Regions from separate parts of the Homo sapiens genome. Here regions 2, 3, 4 and 5 are each linked to region 1. Evidence: promoter capture Hi-C in 16 types of primary human blood cells and fetal thymus (Javierre and others, 2016). All regions are on one chromosome and are shown on one strand. The core of a region is centred on a gene start or on the middle of the fragment in contact, and the rest is flanking DNA. Distances in the headings are between cores, read along the strand shown.

Region 1 (2,873 bases), core at 95-2,594:
TACCATAATCCCTAATTGACATTAATAATAAAGCATTAATTATATTTATAGTGGTTCGTTTTCCCAATTTATAATAACTAATATGTATTGTTCTGGATGGAACTAGACAGTTTTTTATTCTTTGTAATAATGAGGGCATTTCAACACATTATGTTCACTTTTAAGCTGACCTTCATACAGCCACGAGTTTGTTTATAAAGCAAGAAGCAGAGTCAAACTAAAATTTTTGTTTTACAAAATGTCAAAAACTCAGTTAATTTCTTTCATACAACAGGCAATTCCTGCAACCTTGCCCATAAAATCCTAAGACATAAACACCTGAAAGAGTCAGTTTGCCTTTTTTTGTCTCATGGCAAATATTACAGTGAGAGGAAGCTATAGCTGCCACTGACCGAACCCTAAATTCAGCAGCATCAACAATATCAATGCAGCCTGTCATGCGACGGTAGGTTCCCTAGTTTCAGACTATCTAACCCAGCAAATTCTGCCTCAAAAAGTGACATACTAAGTGGGTAAAAAACATAAAACAGCAATTTTTGAATCAAAGTTAGGGTAGTGCTGACTTCAAACATAGCTTCAGAACGCTGGGACCCATCACTAAGTGAATGGGAGTGACTGGCATCCGCTCAGACAAGTACTAGGGCAAAGGGATAAGAACTGGCAGATGGCATCTCAAAAATGAAATTCTAACAGTGGTGTCAGTACCTTGGGCATGGGCAAAAATAGTACCAACAGGAAAGGAAAGACTATATGAACCCCAAAAGCAAGCACATCGCCCAAAATTGCTGTCAATAACCACCAACGATCATCACCAATCACCTGATCCCGTTTAGATTGCACCTGGGAACCAGGCAGTCCCACCTCAAGACCAAAGCAACTGTCACAAGTAGCAAATATCACTCACCAGGCAAGGGAGCCACAAAGACCCCCGGCTGGCCCCCACGCTCTTGGTAACGGCGCCTACTTTTGGGCCCGACCTGCAGGCTTGCAGCCGCAGCGATCTGACAGCTAGCACCGCCCCCGGCTAGAGCGGGTTTGTGACCTTTGACCCCTGACCCCTGACCTCCACGGTGCAGGAACATCCCGCCCTGTGGTTTCCCATGGAGAAGCTTGAAAGCCCCCTTACCTGTCACAGCTTCATCTCATGCCGCGATGTAGCCTATCAGACCGCCGGTGGGCGCCCCAGCCAAGGAGGACAAGGATAGGGCGGAACTACGGAGGATGCGGGGTGCGTAGATCCTGCTGGGATAATCCGTGGGGCGGCAAGCGCTATACAGCCGCCGTCTCCCCAGTGATACTGCAAGGTGCCGGTGCCGCCGCCGCCGCCACTGCAGTAAATCAGCTGACACCAGCCCCAACTGCCGTGACTTTCGCTGCAACTGTCGCAAAAATGAGGGGGCGGGAAAGACTCACCATTTCCCTACTTGCAAGGCCTAAGCCGGCGCCGAGAGAGCCAGCCGCGTTACGATGGAGACCGAAAGTGGAGAAAAGGCCAGCTGTGGGCAAGGAGTGCACGGCCGCCATCTTGGTTGTGGGAAGTCTCGTCTAGGCTGTCCTCTCTCCAGTTGGGAGGACCAAGATGGAGCGAAGGATGAAGTAGCAAGTGCACGTCTTTCTTGGGAGCAGGATGTTGCGCAAGTTTACACTTCTGACCCCATCACACTGCTTCCCACTGAGATGCAAGAGGTAGGGAATTCCCTAAACACTGGAAAGTATGTTGGATGCTGGAAAGCTAAAAAGAATGACAAATGTCCCCCAAGATAGATAAGCTATAGTATAGTGCAGGATGAGAAATGCCAAATAAGGAGCAAGGAAGAAAAGAGATGAATTATTTCTAGGTTGGGGTAAGGAAGGATAATCACATTAGGTCATATGGAAGTCTAGAAAAATTGGTCAGATTTGGAATAATAATTGGGAAAGGAAAACAACTTTGTCACCAGCATTGAAATGTAAAACATGAATATATGCAATAAATAGAAAGTTAAATTTGGAAGAAATACAAGGGACGTGAAGTAGGTGAAGTGGGAAAATGTGGTATCAGGGCTTAGCTGTTTCTGCTCCGTGAGCGGCTCCTTTAACAGGCAGTCTATGCCCTGGAGCTCTCTTGTGGGTTGATAGAGACTTCATCACATTCGGCCTAGACCAGGTAATAAAAAAGTAACATGGAAAAATAGAATAATGTAGATAACAAGAGGCTTTTAGTGGCCATATAAGCTTTTTGGTCTTTATTCCAAAGACAATGAAAAGTAATTGAAGACTTTTGACTAATAAATAGTGTAGCACTTTTCCTAACCACATGGTATTCAGGTTTTTAAAATTGCTTTACAACAAATTATCACAGTCTTAGTGTCTTAGTGGCTTAAAGCAACACATATGTATTGCCTCACATTCCATGGGCAAGGAGGTCAGGAACAGGTTAGCTGAGTCCTGTGCTCATGCTCTCACAAGGCTACAAGTGGATGTCAGCCAAACTGCAATTCTCATCTGGAGGCTCAACTAGGGAAGAATCTGATTCCAAACTCCTGTCAGCTCATTCAGTTCCTTGTGGCTGTCTGACTAGGGGCCCTGGCTTCTTACTGGCTCTGAACTGGAAGTGGCCATCAGGTCCTAGCAGCCACCCACAGTTCCTTACCACATGGGCCTTACTAAAGGCTCTCTCGCAACATGGCAGCATACTCCTTCAAAGCTAGCAAGGAGAATCTCTCTACTGAGCACAAGAAAGGAGTCACACAGATATAGATACAGCCATGGATATGGACATGGACATAGATATGGAAATGGATGTAGATGATAACCTAAATTAGGGAGTGACAGCCATCACCTTTGCCATATATTATTGGTTAAAGTAAGTCACGGGTTTTATCTGTACTCAA
Region 2 (2,873 bases), core at 139-2,638, 990 kb before region 1:
TTGAGACAACAGGGAAACAAATTAGATATCATGCACTGTAGTAGAATAGGCTCCAAATAATGAAGAGATTTCAATGTAAAAGAAAAAAAAACTCATCAAAGTATTTGAAGAAAATCACGAGGAAATTCAAATACTGGAGTGGGGAAAGACTTTCTAATTAAGACTAAAAATCTAAAGCCTCAAAGGAAAGGCTAGTAATTTCAAATGCATAAATATTTTTAAAACCTCCATTATGGCAAAAAAAAAAAAAAGAAAAAGAAAAAAGGTATAAGCAAAGATGGCAAAATGGAGAAAAAGTGTGCGAGTCTTAGTTCAGGCTGCTATGACAAAATACCACAAACTGCGTGGTTTATATAAGCAACAGAAATTTTTTCTCACAGTTCTGGCAGAAGCTAGGAACTCTTAGGTCAAGGGGCTGACAGATTTGGTGCCTACTGAGGAAATGCTTTCTGGTTCACAAATGGTGCCTTCTGACTGTGTCTTTACGTGGTGGAAGGGGCCAACAAGCTCCTTCAGGACTATTTTATAAAGACATAATCCCTCCTGATTTAATCACCTCTGAATGTCTCCACCTCCTAGTATCACCTTGGAGGTTAGGATTTCAGCATATGAATTTTAAGGGGGCACAAACCTTCAGACCATAGCAGCCAAGGTTGTGAAAACAAAAAGTCAGAAAAAAGGAAATACAATGGGGCGGGGTGCGGTGGCTCATCCCTGTAATCCCAGCACTTTGGAAGGCCAGGGTGGGCGTATCACTTGAGGCCAGGAGTTTGAGACCAGCCAGGCCAACATGGTGAAACCCTGTCTCCATTAAAAATACAAAAATTAGCTGGGTGTATAACTATAGTGCCAGCTACGAGGGAGGCTGAGGCAGGAGAATCACTTGAACCTAGGAGGCGGAGGTTGCAGTGATTTGAGATTGCACCACTGCACTCCAGCCTGGGAAACAGAGCCAGACTCTGTCTCAAAAAAAGAAATACAGCTGGGCGCGGTGGCTCACGCCTGTAATCCCAGCACTTTGGGAGGCTGAGGCAGGCGGATCACGAGGTCAGGAAATCGAGACCATCCTGGCTAACACGGTGAAACCCTGTCAAGGTGTGGTGGCGGGTGCCTGTAGTCCCAGCTACTCGGGAGGCTGAGGCAGGAGAATCGCGTGAACCCGGAAGGCGGAGCTTGCAGTGAGCTGAGATTGCGCCACTACACTCCAGCCCAGGCAACAGAGCGAGACTCCATCTCAAAAAAAAAAAAAAAAAAAAGAAAGAAATACAAATGGCTCTTCAACACATGAAACAATGTTTAAACTTACCTGAAATAAAGAAGTGAAAATCAAAATGATTTTGATAGGCCATCTTCACCTATTAATTTGGCAAAAACAAGAAAGTTTGGTAATGCACTGTTAAGGCTATGGCAAAACAAGCCTTCTAATGTATTAATGAAAAGTATATAAATTATGAAACTCTAGGAAAGGATTTAGCCATAACCATTAATTTTTTTTTTTTGAGATGGAGTTTAGCTCTGTCACCTAGGCTGGAGTGCAGTGGCGCAGTCTCAGCTCACTGCAACCTCTGCCCCCCAGGTTCAAGCTATTCTCCTGCCTCAGCCTCCCGAGTAGCTGGGACTACAGGCGGGTGCCACCACACTCGGCTAATTTTTTGTATATTTTTTTAGTAGAGATGGGGTTTCACCGTGTTAGCCAGGATGGTCTCAATCTCCTGACCTTGTGATCCGCTCGCCTCAGCCTCCCAAAATGCTGGGATTACAGGCGTGAGCCACCGCACCTGGCCCTTGCCAGTAAAATGTTAAATGTATATTCCCTTTGACCTGGCAATCACACTTCTCAAATTCATCCTGCAGATATATTTGCCCACAAGGGAAATGACACGTACAGTGATTATACTGCAGCACTGTTTGTAATAGCAAAATATCAGCAGTAAGCTAGCAATCCATCAGTTTCACTACAGTTAAATGAAATAAGTTCCATCCCAACAAAAGGATACAATGAAACTATAATGGGAGCTAAGGGAGAAGAATGAAAGATCTCCATTCATTGTGGAGTGTGAAGAGCCAGGTGCAGAACTGTGTGTATGGGGACAACCTTTCATATAAAAAAGAAACAAGAGGAGGCAATTAAATTGATGTGTAGAGTCAATGCAATTCCAATTGAAATCCCATGAGATTCTTTTTTTGGTAAAAATTGATAAGCTGATTCTAAAATTCATCTGGAAATGCAAAGGACCTAAAATAGCCAAAATAACTCTGCAGAAGAAAAACAAAGTTGGAGGAAGAACACTACTTGATTTTGAAAGTTGTTACCAGCATGGGCTGAAGAACGACTAGTTAAGTACTATGCTGACTGCCTGGGGGACAGGATCGCTGGGACCTCAAGCCTCAGAGTCATGCGATTTACCCATGCAACAAAGCTGCACATATACCCTTTAGTCTATAATAAAAGTCAAAATTTTAAAAATAAAATAAATGTGAAATTAGGGCCAAAAAAGAGAAAATTGTTATAAAGCTATAGCAATCAAAACAGCATAGTATTGGCTTAAAGAGGGCAGATAGATCAATGGAACCTAATAGAGTCCATAAATAAATCCATACATCAATGGACAACTGATATTGAACAAGGTTACAAAAGCGATGAGGTAGAGAAAGGATGGCCATCTCAATAAATGGTGCCGGGACATTTGATATCCACATGCGAAAAAATGAACTTGGATCCCTACCTGGAACCCCGTACCTTGTCCTCACAAAAGATCTGAACAGATACTTCAACAGAGAAGATACAGGTAAAGCAAAAATGCACATGAGAAGATGCTCAACATCATTAGTCACTAGGGAAATACATGAGAAAACTTTTTGGTAGGCCAGGC
Region 3 (2,873 bases), core at 273-2,772, 950 kb before region 1:
TAGAGATGGCGTCTCCCTATGTTGCCCGGGCTGGTCTCAAACTCCTTGGCTCAAGCAGTCCTCCCACCCCAGCTTTCCAAAGTATTGGGATTACAGGCGTGAGCCACTGCATCTGGCTCAAGTTTCCAAGACTATGCTAGGCCCTCTTTCCTGTGCATTTAACCATTACTTACATAATATTTGCACATCTAATTGTTTTACAGTTGAAATGTGTGTAGATGCTGCTAACTAGTTTTGGGTTTTAGAAGGAATTAATAGGTGAAACAATATACTGGGTCTATGTAAAGCACTCTTGTTTCTGTGAATTCAGTTTGGTTTTTTGGTTTTTTTTTTTTAAAGAGATGGAGGTATTGCTGTGTTGACTGGGCTGGTCTCAAACTCCTGGCCTCGAGCAGTCCTCTCACCTCGGCCTCCCGAGTGTTGAGATTATAGGCATGAGCCACACTGTGCCCAGCCTATGAATTCAGTTTATGATGTATAATGACAAAATTTTGTATTGAGAACTTGCATACTTTTAGTGTTCCTAATACTTAGTAAAATAGTGTAGTTGAGTGGAAAGAACACAAGCTGTGGAGTCAGAAGGCCCCCCAGGTGGGCTTAGCTCCCACCTCTTTTCTTTTGTGCTGTGTAACTGAAGACCAGTGACCCCCTCTCAGGTTCCTTATCTCTACCTTGGAAGTAACATCTGTTTTGCAAGATTGTGGGGACTACCGGAGCTAAATGCCTAGGCAGGACAATGGCAGGGGGAGCCTGTCAGCATTTACTATACATTGCTACTGTTCCACACACATGAGGACACTAGAGTGGATACATGACCCTCAGGCTTTGGGGGGTATGAAATAAGACCTGTTTTCCCCTAACTAAATCTTATGCAGAACCCCGCTGTGTAAAGCAGATGCAAGCTGAGAGACTAGAGCTCTCCCACTCATCTCCTGTTACCTCTCGGCGTCTCCGAGGACGCAAGGGCTCCAGAGCCTGGAGCTTGAAAACAGGTGTGCTAGGTGATTGCTACCTCCATTTCACTTCTTCATTAAACAAATCTATGAGTCTTCTCCAGTTCTCTCAATCCATTTTTACTGGGACGAGAGTTGTCAGTTTTAACTTCTGTGTTAACTTTAATTTATGTGTGGTATAGAAGGATGTTTTGAGAGAGAAACTGATGCGCTTAAGTCATCATCTAACATTGTTTGGGTAACTATTCCAGGTGTGCTTACACTTACCAGTTTGACATTGGTTATTTGTCTTATGATTGTGTCTGTCATCGAAGGCATAACTGATTGATTACAACAGGAAAGAAGGGTAGATAACAGGAGAGTTTAAAGATAAGTGTCATTAGTAATATACTCTGTGTGTAGATCAATGATGTTCTGGAGCATTCATGATTACCGTATGCCTTACGGGACTAAGTGGACCTCATTTGCTTCAGAGCTAGACAAAACGGGCCACTGAGAAAAATACTGAGCTGTGTCTAGTCACAGCTTGGGGCTGGCTTTTGTTTTTGTTTTTTTTTTTATTTTCCTTCATCAAACAGCATGGTGCTTGAGATATGCTGTAAAGGGAGACAGATCTTTTATGCTTCATTAAATAACTGAGTTTTAAGAATATGTTTATTTCTTTTTGAAAGAAATTATTCTTTACACAAATGTGTATGGGTTAAGGGTAGGTGTGTATCCTCTACTCTGTTGAATTGATAGGAGGAAGGACTGGTACAGGGTGAAGGAGCTGCTTCTGTCTTGTTGCGATCCAAGTTGTAAATGTTAATGAAGTCTTGTTTGACCTCAGGATATCCCAGAAGCTCCTGAGAGACTGATGACAGACACCATTAATGAACCAATCTTGCTGTGTCGATTTCCTGTGGAGATCAAGTCCTTCTACATGCAGCGATGTCCTGAGGATTCCCGTCTTACTGAATCTGTCAGTTTCTGTTTCAAAGAGTATTAATAATTTTGCTTTTTAAGGGGGTGGGGACTGTCATCTGGAATCAGGTACAGCTCATGCCAAATATTTCATTCTCTATCTAGAATAACAATATTTAAAGACGTTGGGTTTTTTCACCCTCCCCTGATTGAAGTTGACATGCTTTGTTAAATTAGAGAAATGTAAACATTTGAATATTACATGATCATAGTGGCTCCTTTAGCCCTTGGAGCTTAATTGTAATTTTCATTTAAACTCTAGGGCAGTGCTGTGTCTGATCGCTTGATAGTAATTGTGTATCTTCTTTCACTTATATTTAAAGGTCGACGTGTTGATGCCCAATGTTGGTGAGATTGTGGGAGGCTCAATGCGTATCTTTGATAGTGAAGAAATACTGGCAGGTTATAAAAGGGAAGGGATTGACCCCACTCCCTATTACTGGTATACGGATCAGGTAAAACCAATTTTTTAAGTACTCAACATTTTTTTCCACTGTAATCGTTCTGTATATATTGAAATTTTTAAAAGGGGAGAATTCAGGGTAGTACTTTGGTATTTGAATGAGCTATATTCAGTTTGCAGGTTATAATGTGGTGTGTGAATATTGCCAGCTTTGTTTTGGCCAAGTTATATGTTAATTTCATTTGAAAACCTGTTTAACGGCCGGCTTGTTGATTGCAACTGAGTTTTAAAAAATTGATCCTACCAGTATCTAGTACCCTTCTTCATTTTCCTCTTATAAATAGACATTGACTTATTTTAAAAGTTTTTAAAAATCTCTTCTTTCCAGGGTAGTACTTATTCCCTGGTTGATTTTTTCATACCAAATTATTTCTTTATGCATGGTTCATGAAGGCATAGAGATTAAGTGCTGGGATTACAGGCACGAGCCACTGAATCTGGCCATAGTTGAATTCTTAACCACAGTGAGCTAACTCCTTTCATGGTGGAAAATT
Region 4 (2,873 bases), core at 208-2,707, 920 kb before region 1:
CTTGAGCCCAGGAGTTTGAGACCAGCCTGAGCAACATGGTGAAACTCTGTCTACACACACACACACACACACACACACACACACACACACACACACACGACAACAACAACAACAACAACAGCAACAACAACTAGTCAGACATGGTGGCACACGCCTGTAGGCCCAGCTATTTGTGAGGCTGAGGTGGAAGGATCGCTTGAGCCAGGGAGGTTGAAGCTGCAGTGAGCCATGATCATGCCATTGCATTCCAGCCTGGGAAACAAAGTGAGACCCTGTCTCAAAAAAAAAAAAAAGGTTTTATTATGAACCAGATTTGCAATTGCTATGCTGTCTCTCGTGGGAAGAGGAGGCAGAAAGGTTCCCATTTTTCCTGTTTTTATGTTACTGTAGTACCCATCATTATAAAGAGCCCTAGTGAGCATGGGGGTGGGGCACACCCCAGCAGTTTGGGAGGCTGAAGCAGAAGGATTGCTTGAGCCCAGGAGTTAAAGCCCTGGTAGAGTTGTCAGACTTGAAAAAGCAATACAGACAGGAGGGCATCCTTCCCGCCACCTCCTGTCTCCGGTGAGGCTGCTGGGGTACCTCTTCATCTCCTTCTCATTCCTCTTCCCTTCTGATCCTTTCTTTCCTATATAGTTGTAAAGTTTACTTTTGAACTATGTCTATTGATTTATTTCTATTAAGAAAAATTCTCTTTAGGCCAGAAAATGTGATGATTGCAAACAGATAAACATGTTTCATGCTGTCGTTTTTTAGGGAAGTGGTTGTTGCTTGGTAGCCAGTGTGGACGTTTTGAGACTTGCACTGGTTTCATAGAATTGACCAGTTAACTAAGACAGTGAGTTATATCAGGAAATGGTTTCATGTAGTTACATTGCATTGCAGAAATGTAGAGAATAGATACAGAAATAGATGAGAAGTGTAATCATGTGATGGAAAGTCTAAATCTCAAATATGCTTTGCAAATTATAGTTTAACTGTTTAGCTTGTAACTGCTTTTAGTGAAGCTATAAGTAAGGGATGCTCATGAAATAATTCTGTTCTTTCCCGGATGCAGCGTGGATAGGCGTATGGGTTCCTTTCTCTGATGGTGTTGGCTTCCCTGCTCTGGTTCAGGCAGTTTACTTACTTAACTAAGCCTCAGCTAGAAAATGGGGATGGTAACAGAACTCAACTCTTAGATCCTTGTGAAAATTAAATGCGATAATCCTGAGAGGCATTAACATGACAAAAGTTCAATATACGTGAGCTTTTTAATTCATCATTGGCACAGGGTTCATGATCTGATACAAAGTAAGCATTTGCTACATATTTCAAACTTTTCTTTCAAAAAATCATGTACAAATCGGACATTTGAACTATTGTACATGCTAAATTAATGAAGTTTTTGCTGTTTAAAAATCTAGTTTCTCTGTCTTTTAGTAGTTCTTGCTGAAGACTGTTCATTGAACAGCTGCTCTGAGGGTACGTAAGCTAGGCCAGTGAGTGATGTGTTTTGGGCTCACTCTGGCCAGATCTGCCCACGAGATGTGGCACTGGTTAACATCGGAGAGGCTCCTTCTCATCCCTGCATCCTTCCAGGGACAGCCAGCTGCATTGTGAAACCCACCCTGATGGACACGGGTCCTTCATGAACACTGTTTGTTGGTTCCTCAGGATATGCCCAGTTGGAGAGTACCTTGCTGCTTTTTCTCCAATATGTGTTTACAGGTTGTCTTTAGAAAGCATTTAGAAAACATTATCAGTTCTTTCCAGGGTATTTTACTCTGTCTCACTTTAAAATGTGGCCACCTGCCCTTGTCTTTATCTGCAAGGGCAGCCTTTCTACCTCTTAGTATGCATGATTTGAGGAACTCCCAGACCCTAGGCATTTAGACCGTAACCTTCAGATACTGGACAGGTGAAAAGAAAATGCGAGAAGCCGGTTGACCTGCAGCACTGGGGATGTCATTCTGATCATCGTATTGTTTCAAAGTAGAATCGAAAGCAGTTTCTACTTGCTTGCTAAACCTCAGCTCAAATCACCAAGAGTTGCTTCAAGGGATTTGATGGTATTGTAATAGTTGGCGGTTTTTAGCACAAAGCACATAATCTTTGAACAATCAGTCATTTGGAGTTTGCTTATGGGATCATGTCCTGTGATATGTTTTAACTGCTAGTGACCATTTTATGCAAGGCAGCACGAAATTGGTGGCCGGAAAATGGACAGAGCGCTAAAAATGATCTAGTTTTACTTCCTTCTTCTTTTTTGCAGTACCCAACCAGAGAATACTGAGTCCGACCAGCCTTTCTGTGCACACATGTGCTTCTCTCGCCTAATGGCATTCTGCTTCTCCCTTGGGAATGTGTTCCCCTGGCTCTTAGCTCTCTGGGTCAAGTTAGGAGGAATGTCGTCCTTGTATATATCTAGGTATAAATGAGATAAACTCCCGTCTTTTCCTTCACTTTAACCTAAATGTTTCTTGTGGCAATTTATGTCACATTCATAGTTGCAGCCCCTGCTAATGCTTTGGACAGTAACATTATCATGGTCTTATTATTTATTACCTGACACTCATGTAGTGATTCTCACTATCATCCCTGAGTGTAAGTTATGTGTAATCCTATGAAAAGGCAAGGAAACAAGACTAAGTAAGTTTAGGAAACTTGTAGTTTTATGACTTTATACATGCTTAAACAATTATGTGGTGTGGATGTTTTTGAACTACAAGAAAGGAAGATGCGGGAGGATAAAGAAGATAGAAGAGGGTATTCGTGAAAGGACAGGGAAGGGACAGGGAAAGAACATGAGGATATACAGCAGGCATGGGCCATTTAGGTACCAAGAACAATGGCTTTCAATCCCATGTGGCACCTCCAAAGTAAGCACTGTT
Region 5 (2,873 bases), core at 262-2,761, 870 kb after region 1:
CCTGGAAGTCTTGCTCTGAGGCCCATCAGCATGGAAACAGGCCTTTTTAAAGGAAATAATCCAGATATTTTCTTTTTCCTGATGCCTGTGTAGACGTGTTTCCTTGCAGCTCCTTTCAGTTGGCCTGAATGCGGGAAAGCACCAGGGGGAGCTCACACATCTTCCTTCTTTTTCTCCCCCTCTTACAGAAGGTTGGCTCTTGTATCCTAGCAAAAGGGTGGGTCAAAAACAACAACATGCATGAAATGATTCAGAAAGGTAAACAAAGGCAATTCGTTCTGTAAAAATACTCTAGATTCTTTCTGAGGACTGGGCACTACACTGCTCATAGTGGGCACCTAAAGTCAGCATTCAGCCAACTCAGCGGGCTTTAAGATGGAGACTCTTAAACCTCCTGCATCAAAAAGACATAAGGGAATGTCCCTGAGAAGAGCCTGTGTCTCCTTTGAAGAGAGAGAGAGAGATTGATTCTGCCTCCTTGCAATTCGAACCGGCATTTTCCAGAACACTCCAATTTGAATCACAGTGGAGGGTCATGGGAGGGATTTGGCACAGGGGAGTCTTGGGTCTTTGGTTTTCCACATTGATCAATGGGATTGATTTTTTCTGTTTTTGTTTTTGTTTTAAAAGAAGAGAATTAGTTCCTTTTTCTGTCTCCAGGATTGAAAACATGAAGGCAAAGAAGAGAAACTCACAATATGTCATTAACTTTGGGTTATCAATATTAGTGGAAAGAATCAATGGTGCAAAGAATCCTAAAGGACTAGATAATCCGCATATTCGACTTCCTGATTATGTGTTACTGACACTAACATTTCAGAGTGTGGAGACCCTGCCCCATCTGGGGAGAGGGAGAGACAAAGACCCCCTGCTTCTGGTACTTGATTCACACATAATGCCCTCCATTTACTGCTTTCAAGAAATAACCTGTTTCTAATCTTAAATTTCAATCTACTGATCACAAAATCATAGAGATCTTAGCCTTGAAAGAGACTTCATGAGACCATGTGACCAACTTTCTGACGCAGGTGAGATATCATTGTTTTGCATTTTATTTTATAGAGGAAGTCACTGAGATTCAGAAAGGAAAATTAAAGAGGCCGGGTCTCAGTTGAGTGATTTTTCTCCGTAGATTAAAAAATCCATTCAGTATCCAGTTCCCCTTCCCCACCTACTCCTCCTAATAAGGCTGTGAATAGCGTTTTTTATATCCCAAGTCTAAACTTTGAGCCATTGGCAACCCTTAGGAGGAAAGAGATGAATCACAAGGGATTGTGGAATCATTAGAAATTGAGGTAGCTGAACATCTGGGGGAACGCTCGGCTTGATTCAAAACTCTCATCAAATGTGGTTTTCTCCTGGGTGGGAGGCCGCTGAGCCGCAGGGAAGCTGCGGGGCCAGCTGAGTAGCCGGCGGCCTGTTGGGTCCCCAGTGTCGCGCGACAGCACGACCCGAGACAAGGCACCTGGGGCTGGTGCCAGGCAGAGGCCCCGCGTTGCGTGGCCGGCGGCAACAGCGCCTGGCGGTCGGTTCCGGGCGGGGCTGCAGGCGCCGGGTTCCCGCGGCCGCGAGGCGGGGCTGGAGGGCGCTGCGGGCTGCGCGGAGGCTGCGGGAAGCGCGGGGAGCACGCGGAGCCCGACTAGCAGGGAGATCGCGTCGCGCCGGGCACAGGCACGGGACCCGCGCTCTAGGAGGGCGCAGCGAGAGGCGCACTGCGCACCCAGGGGCTGCGGTCCCGGCCGCCGTGCGGTGACAAGCTGACTCCCCGCCGCCGCCCAGCCAAGTCCGCGCGGGGTGCTGGCGGAGATGTCGCATGGGAGGCTTCTTCAACGAGGTGCAAATCCAAGCCACCTCGCCTGAGTGAATGAAGGGACGGCGCGGGGCGCGGGTGGGGTTCACCGTGACAAAAGCCCAGTACCTGGTTCAAACTTTTTTTTTTTTTTTGCCCGCAGGATTAGAACATCCGACATTAAAATGTCTCAGTGCAGCAGAATTTCCCAGCGACTTCGGTGGCGGGAGAGCAGCACCTCTCAGGCACAGCTGTGCGCATCCCTCGGGCCCCACCGACCGCACCATCTGACCGCGGGAAACGAAATCTGAGCTCAGGAATTTGAACTGCCCCACGCACGTTCGTTCCCGGATAAATCTCCTAGAGGACCGTGATTTTTCCACTTAGAGATTATTTAGGGAGATGTCCTGGATGGGACAAGTAGACAAATGGCGGCCCGAGGAAAATGCAGGAAACTCTACATTGTAGACGCTTAAGCACCAACTGTCTGGGCCCCGGGGCAGGGAACGGGAGACATTATCCACCGGAAACATCACACCCCCGGGGCTCCTGGCATTTTCTACATCAGTGAATGTGCCAGCGAAGAAGAGTGTGGGGAAATTTTCTGAACATAGAATTCATATTCCTGAAACGTTAAGTCGTGAAGTGGGTGCTTCAGCTGTCCCCCAGCTTTAGGATTTTAACCCAGCTTTGGTTTTGATCACCGAGAGTTATTCCTTATAATCAAATCAGCAAAAGCGTTCAATTACCTATTACTGGTTGAGAAAGATTCCGTTCCCCCAGCTCATTGTATCGGTTCTTGGACCCAAGATGTTAATTATCGGCCAGGCATTCACAGGGGGTTAATATGGCCCCCCTCGACACCTTGCCTCGTACCAGAGACACCAAAAGCTGCCGCTGAGGGATAATAGAGAATGGGAAAAGCTGGTCATGAAAAACCTCTTTTATTCTTACTTGCAAGCTACCCTTTTGACATTCTTTTTTTAACACTAAATGGAGATTACTGAATTGATAACTTTTGGGTTTTCTCTGTCACACTGGGGTTTTTTTCCCCCCGTTTGTTTGTAAGGTTTTTTTGGTTTTG

Evidence for each region. The method cuts DNA at HindIII sites, captures the fragments that hold promoters and counts their contacts. A CHiCAGO score of 5 or more calls a contact.
Region 2: a contact is called between a fragment that was not itself captured here and the fragment with the promoter of WDR7 in region 1, in 2 of 17 cell types (total CD8 T cells and naive CD4 T cells). The highest score is 7.2, in total CD8 T cells.
Region 3: a contact is called between a fragment that was not itself captured here and the fragment with the promoter of WDR7 in region 1, in 4 of 17 cell types (total CD8 T cells, total CD4 T cells, non-activated CD4 T cells and 1 more). The highest score is 8.1, in total CD8 T cells.
Region 4: a fragment that was not itself captured here is called in contact with the fragment with the promoter of WDR7 in region 1 in 7 of 17 cell types (naive CD4 T cells, total CD4 T cells, activated CD4 T cells and 4 more); the score reaches 9.5 in naive CD4 T cells.
Region 5: a fragment that was not itself captured here is called in contact with the fragment with the promoter of WDR7 in region 1 in 2 of 17 cell types (monocytes and total B cells); the score reaches 7.4 in monocytes.

Annotation. Positions count from the first base shown.
Region 1 is chr18:56,649,830-56,652,702 of GRCh38, reverse strand. It overlaps WDR7 (WD repeat domain 7), which reads right to left and starts at 1,344. Exons shown (of 28, transcript NM_015285.3): 1 at 1,127-1,344. RefSeq lists an enhancer at 1,224-1,613. The HindIII fragment of the contact is 1,105 bases long and covers 1,112-2,216 here.
Region 2 is chr18:57,637,964-57,640,836 of GRCh38, reverse strand. The region is part of intron 1 of ATP8B1-AS1 (ATP8B1 antisense RNA 1); the gene reads right to left. Among named protein-coding and RNA genes, the nearest start is that of ATP8B1-AS1, 9.1 kb to the right of the region's middle. The HindIII fragment of the contact is 5,643 bases long and covers 1-2,873 here.
Region 3 is chr18:57,601,853-57,604,725 of GRCh38, reverse strand. NARS1 (asparaginyl-tRNA synthetase 1) reads left to right here. Exons shown (of 14, transcript NM_004539.4): 12 at 1,783-1,914; 13 at 2,240-2,371. Among named protein-coding and RNA genes, the nearest start is that of FECH, 17 kb to the right of the region's middle. RefSeq lists an enhancer at 555-849. The HindIII fragment of the contact is 8,142 bases long and covers 1-2,873 here.
Region 4 is chr18:57,567,258-57,570,130 of GRCh38, reverse strand. The region is part of intron 4 of FECH (ferrochelatase); the gene reads left to right. Among named protein-coding and RNA genes, the nearest start is that of FECH, 18 kb to the left of the region's middle. The HindIII fragment of the contact is 5,994 bases long and covers 1-2,873 here.
Region 5 is chr18:55,779,110-55,781,982 of GRCh38, reverse strand. It overlaps LINC01415 (long intergenic non-protein coding RNA 1415), which reads left to right and starts at 258. Exons shown (of 2, transcript NR_145452.1): 1 at 258-1,028; 2 at 1,953-2,873. The region is part of intron 2 of LOC105372130 (a long non-coding RNA gene); the gene reads right to left. The HindIII fragment of the contact is 4,279 bases long and covers 1-2,873 here.